Regions from separate parts of the Homo sapiens genome. Here region 2 is linked to region 1. The links are contacts of gene promoters, found by promoter capture Hi-C in human tissues and cell types (Jung and others, 2019). All regions are on one chromosome and are shown on one strand. Each heading gives the region's core, a stretch centred on a gene start or on the middle of the fragment in contact. The rest is flanking DNA. Distances are from core to core; before and after follow the strand shown. Region 1 holds the start of LRP8 (LDL receptor related protein 8). Region 2 has its middle 42 kb from the start of DMRTB1.

Evidence for each region. The method cuts DNA at HindIII sites, captures the fragments that hold promoters and counts their contacts. A contact is called where the count stands out against the background at its distance.
Region 2: a fragment that was not itself captured here is called in contact with the fragment with the promoter of LRP8 in region 1 in 2 of the 25 tissues and cell types used here (mesendoderm cells and thymus).

What each region holds. Positions count from the first base shown.
Region 1 is chr1:53,326,820-53,329,710 of GRCh38, forward strand. It overlaps LRP8 (LDL receptor related protein 8), which reads right to left and starts at 1,251. Exons shown (of 19, transcript NM_004631.5): 1 at 970-1,251; 2 at 54-173. The coding sequence starts at 1,093. It overlaps LRP8-DT (LRP8 divergent transcript), which reads left to right and starts at 1,414. Exons shown (of 3, transcript NR_131923.1): 1 at 1,414-1,556. RefSeq lists silencers at 1-232, 748-917, 968-1,117, 1,188-1,387 and enhancers at 298-407, 1,458-1,687. The HindIII fragment of the contact is 17,458 bases long and covers 1-2,891 here.
Region 2 is chr1:53,416,262-53,419,152 of GRCh38, forward strand. No RefSeq gene overlaps it. Among named protein-coding and RNA genes, the nearest start is that of DMRTB1, 42 kb to the right of the region's middle. The HindIII fragment of the contact is 3,198 bases long and covers 1-2,891 here.

The sequences.
Region 1 (2,891 bases), core at 1-2,500:
CCCCACCGTTCCTTTTCTCTCCCCGGGTCTGAGCTCCCTGGCCCGCCACTCACGGCAGTCGTCCTCGTCGCTGTGGTCTAAGCAGTCATCGTCCTCGTCGCATCTCCACACAGAGGGGATGCAGCGCTCGTTCCGGCACTGGAATTGGTCCTTTTCGCAATCCTTGGCCGGCCCTGCGAGGGGGAGGGAGCGTGAGCTGGATCAGCGGACTCGGCCCCACTCCCCACCATGCAGTCCGGGCCACCCGGAAGGACCCGCTGGGGAGGAGGAAAGGGGGCGATTATGGAGACCCCGGGGGCTTCAGGCACACTCCATCCAAAGGGAGGGCACGATGGCAGGGGTTCCGTGGATGTCGGGCCGCTCGGTGGCACGGCGAGACCAGGCACCTACTTAAAGTGTCACACGACCTGGGTATACCCTCCATTCAGACGCACTCACCCGCACACGCGACCCATAGTCAGAGATCTGCTCAGATACAGCCCATAGGGAGTCCCCGCGCCCGCGCGCCAGGCGCAGTGGGAGCCGCAGGCACATCACCCTGGCAGGCAGCCCCCTCTCTCTCCGCCGCGCGCAGGGGTCTGCGGAAACGCATTGTCAAGCGGAGAAGCCGCCCGGCTCTGCTCATTACCGCCGCGGAGCGCGCGTGTCAAATAAACCCCAACGGCGAGAATCACACAGCTCATCCGGAACCATGAATGGCCGCCCCTCCGGCAAAGTTCCCCGCTGGCCAAGCCCCCCTGCACCCCTCCCCCAAGATCCGCTGCCCAGAGGGCAGAGCCCTCAACACCGAGGCCCGCGGGGGCGGGGGGCCGAGGGCAAATTCAGGAATAGCCGCTTCGCGTGGAGCCTGTCCGCCCGGGAGCCCCCGATAGCCCCGGGTTCTGGACCCCTCCCCGCTCCGGCCTCCCGGCCGCGCTTTGTTGGTGGCTAGGGCGGAGCAGAGCCGAGTCAGAGACCGGCTGCACGCACCTTGGCCGCCGAGCAGCGGATCAGCCGCTGCCGCCGCAAGATGCTGGAGCTGCAGCAGCAGCAGCAGCAGCAGCAGCAGCAGCAGCGCCAGAAGCCGGAGAGGGCCCGGCTCGGGGAGGCCCATGGCGGGCCCGGGGCTCCGGCCGCCGCGCCCCGCGCTCCCCGCGCCGCCGCCGCCGCGTCTCAGCCCTCCGAGTCCTTGCCGCGGCGCCGGGGTTGCCGCTGCCCCCGCCGCCGCCGCCGCCGCCGCTGCCGCCCGCCCCGGCTCCTCGGCTGCATTTCAAGCAGGTTCGGTGACGCTCGGCGGCGGGGCGGGCTCAGGCTGGGCGCGCGGCCCCGGCCCTGGGCGGCCGCCGCCAGCGCGCGCGCTCCCTCCCGCTGCCGCCTCCGCCCCACGCTCCCCCTGCCGCCGCCTCCTCGCCCTCCTCCCTCCTGTCTTTCGTCCACTCTTCTCTCAGCGGGCGCTCCACGGCCCTGCTCTGGGCTCGCCTGAGTGCTGGGCTCTGCAGACGCAGGGATGGGCCAGGCGAGCCCCTCACCACGGAGGTAGCAGGTCCAGAGGAAGCAGCAGAGGCTTCCTGGAGGAGGTGACAGGCGGATCAGAGGCTGAGGGATGTCTAGGAGTGAGCCTGGGCGGGAGGGGAAATGATGTTACAGGACGAACAGGCCTGTGCAGTGTGCGCGTGGGGCGGGGGAGGGAGGGATAGGGGTGAGATCCCAAGATGTGGATGAGCAGGGAGAAGCTGGGGGCGCAGGGCTGGACCCCTGCACCTGTCATGGGCTCCGGCTGGGATATTATAAATCCCTGTGGCTGGTTTGGTTTCCGTGCCATGTGCATCTGTGCATGTTGCACGCTCATGTGATCATGGGGACGTGAGGCAGGTGGATTGGGCCTGGTGCACAGACTATTCATCGTCGTTAAGTACGCTCCAGGCCCCTAGTCAGAGGGGCAACCAGGGGGGGCCCGCAGGGAAGACAAGGAATCCTCGCTGTGATGGAGAAAGACGAGGTCTGTGGGGCGGGCCGGGCGGGGGGGAAGGGGAGGGCACGGAAGGGATGCCATCCCTGCCGCTAGGGGCCGCGCACCTAGGCCCGCGCTGTCCGCCCCTGCTGTCTTCTGCAGGAAGGAGAAGGCACCTCTTCCTCTGGAGGGCTGCAGCCCGCCTCACCCACACTGGGGAGAATGGGTGCGGAGAGCGAGCTGGGATTCGATTTCAGCCTCAGACTTGTGAGCCGGGTCCAACCCACACAACCTTCTTTAGAGAATGAGATTCCAGGGCATTGGCCACTCAAAACAACCGGCCTGCAGGTGCCAAGAGCCAGTGTTAGGTCCACCCTCCCTCCCCTCTTGCCCCTTCACCTCCCTCGCGGATGGGCAGGTGCTGTTAGCCCTTGGCCTGGAAACCACCCTGTCTCCTCAGCAGCCTCCTGAGCCGTAGTCCCCCAAAGGGCAGCCCAGCGGCAATATCTGTGGCCACCCCACCAGAAAGGGACTTAGATCCCCAGAGAGCCCGGCACGGTGCTCCTGCCATCATCACCCCTCCTGTCCCTTGTTCATTCAGTCATTCAGCAAGCATTTCAGGCCCTGTTCTGTGCCAACCCTGTGCTGGGCCTGCGGGTACCAAGGTGAATCAGGCATGGTGCCAGCCCCGGAGAGGTCCCTGACCTGTGGGGAGACAGACCATTAGCACACAGACAACGAAATGCAGGCGTCCTTTCACCTATATGTGCCAAACGCCCTTCAAGGCTCAAGGATACAGTGGAAACAGATAAGGTTCCTCCCTGCTCTCCTGCAGTTATGTCTTAGTTGGAAGAGATACACACAAAAGCAGGAAAACAAAAGATTATTTCAGGTCATCATAACTTCTATGGAAAAAACAAAACAGACCCAGGTGAGAGCAATGGGGGTAACTGTAGAGGTG
Region 2 (2,891 bases), core at 190-2,689, 90 kb after region 1:
CCATCTGTGAGTTTAGAACTAACCTGAGGTAGCACGCTGTTGTGAAATTCTAAATTAAACACCACTAAACATGATTACGGCTTCAAAAAGTAGTTACATGCTTCAATAACCACACTTTTATCACAAGAACACACAATCTAAAGCCAAAATAGTTGAGTATAACGTGCCAAAAATATGCTCACCCCATACATTGTTAGAAAGAGCAGTAGGAAAAGAAATCTAAAATTTGCTGCTATTTCATTTGACGGCAGCCAACATCTCCTGTCTTCCTTGGCAAGAAGGCCATTTTTCTATGCTGTATTTTGCACACACAGAAATCTGCATAGAGTGATTTGCATACCAAAAACACATTTGTAAAAGAAACTGTTTGCATAGAAGCCAGGGGGAGATAGGGTTGCCACTGTTGACTTCTATACACACAACACTCCCAGGCTACTTACTTTTCACTTTCCTGTGTGCTGAATTTCCAAAAATGGGTTATGGATTTTTTTGATGCATTAAAACTTAAAGCAACTATATCCTGTAGATATCCAAGAACAACCACAACAATAACACATGCTAAATGTTTCGTGCTAACAGACTGTCAACTTTTTACTAAGAGGCTGGTAATAATAAGTGCTATAATATATTGAGCATTTATGATATCCCATGTGTTTTACATAAATTATTGCTTATTCTCACAATTAGTCTTCAAGGTTGGTGTTGTGGTTCCCCATTTACATAGGAGGAAACTGAGGCATGTCAGGGTAAGGTACCTTGTCAAAGCCTTGTAAGCCAGGGCAGTGAAACCAGGTTTGGAAGCCTGACTGACCGCTCAGCCCTTTCCTGCCACCCCTGCCACCCCCACCCCGAGCTGCCTCTCTCTTTTCCCAGTTTTGCTTTCACACCATTGGTTTTTTTTCCACCAGCCTGGTAGGAGGTGGGAGGAAGTCATGCTGAGAGAGGAAGTCATGTTGCACTTTGCTTTCCTGGCATTTTCTCTGACCAGAGCCTAGAAGCAGGACGGCCACAGTCTCAAGGCTCAGTGAAGGTGCCCCATAAAAGAGCTCCGTGACAGACATGGGGTGAATGGGCAATGGCCTGTGATTCAGAGGGTGTCAAGGAGAGAGACGGATTGGTCTCGGCACAAAGACGGTACATGGTAGTTGAGATGCAATGGACCCCTCCCACCCGGTGCCTGCACGCTATCACCGATTCAGTGCCAGCCCAATTGTATTCTTGGAAACACAGAATGGTTTGTGTGTGCTTAATTATAATGCTACTTACAGAGAATTTATCAGCGGCAAATCAGAGGCTTGATGCTTTGCTTAAGAAAAAAAATTGGTAGTGGCTCTTTGAAATGTGTTCATCTGATGAGTCCTTTGGATTTTTCCAGTATACAGCATTTGAAAGAAATTGGCCATTTCTGGAAAGTCAAGTGCGGGGAGCGGGGGCAGAAAGGGCAGAATTAAAAGACTGCAGATGCCTGCCAAAAAAGATTATAAACATTTACTTTCTTTTAAGATACTTCTTTGTCTTTGTGTTTTTTCTCACCTAGTTTCCTGTTATTCATGAATCCATCATTGTCCAAAGACTCCTAGCTTTGAGACCTAATTATGTATTAATCACTGTTAAAAAGCAGTTTTTCTGACACTTTCAGTAATAAATTCCTTTTGATGTGATTAATAGTAACTCTGCCTTATAGCAAGTTCCAGGCTAAAGCAAGTAATGTGACAGCAAACTGCTTTGGAGGCAGACGGATCTGTTTTAAATCTTGGTTTTGTCCTTCCAGTTTGACCTTACTAATCTCTCTAAGCCTCAGTTTCCTCACCTGTAAAATAGGGAAAATAATGCAAGACAGACCCTGGTTGCCTACCTAATAGCCATTTCCATCTCCTTCAATGAGTGACAACAGATCTTAGTTTTGTTCAGCACCTATGGGAAGGCTTGTCATCAAATTCCACGCAATGAGACTGAAGGGGAAATATGCTAGAAGCTTCTGAGAAAGATTTTCCTCTCTGATAAGAGAGATACATGAAGAGAAAGCCCATTTGGGCCGGGTGCAGTGGTTCATGCCTGAAATCCCAGCACTTTGGGAGACCTAGGCGGATGGATCACTTGAGGTTAGGAGTTCGAGACCACCCTGGCCAGCATGGTGAAACCCCATCTCTACTAAAAATACAAAAATTAGCTGGGTGTAGTGGTGCACACCTGCAATCACAGGTGGTGCGCACCTGTGGTGGGAGGCTGAGGCAGGAGAATGGCTTGGACCTCAGAAGGGAGGTTGCAGTGAGCCAAGATCACACCACTGCACTCCAGCCTGGGCAACAGAGCGAGACTCCATCTAAAAAAAAAAAAGAAAGAAAGAAAGAAAAAAAGAAAGCCCGTTTGCCTTTGCCCCCTTGCTTCCCACTCTGGATGCCGCCGTTGAGACATGATGTCTGGTGCTGCGGCAGTTGTCTTATGAACACGAGAAGAAACATCACGGACACACTAAAGACAGCAGAGCCAAAGGCCTGAAAGAGCCCGGGTCCCTGGGGACAACGCTGATCTATTGAACCAAACTTGGTCTATCCATCTCCAGGTTTCTTGTTAAGAATGAATGTCTTTATGGTTTAACCTGTTGAGTATTGGGTTTTCTGTTGCTTACAGCCACACACACACACACACACACACCCCCTAACTTATACAAATACCAACTTCATAAGATGGTTGTAATAAACCATACATTGTATATAAAGTACTTAGCACAATATCTGGCACAGTAAGTGGCTGCTATAAATAGTAACAAAACTGATCAAACGTAGGTAATGATTTAAAAGAGCAAAAGTTCCAAAACACAACACAGATAAAACGAATGGTACTGATTTAGCATGACAAAAACCACCTTTATATTCCTGGTGAAGGAGTGC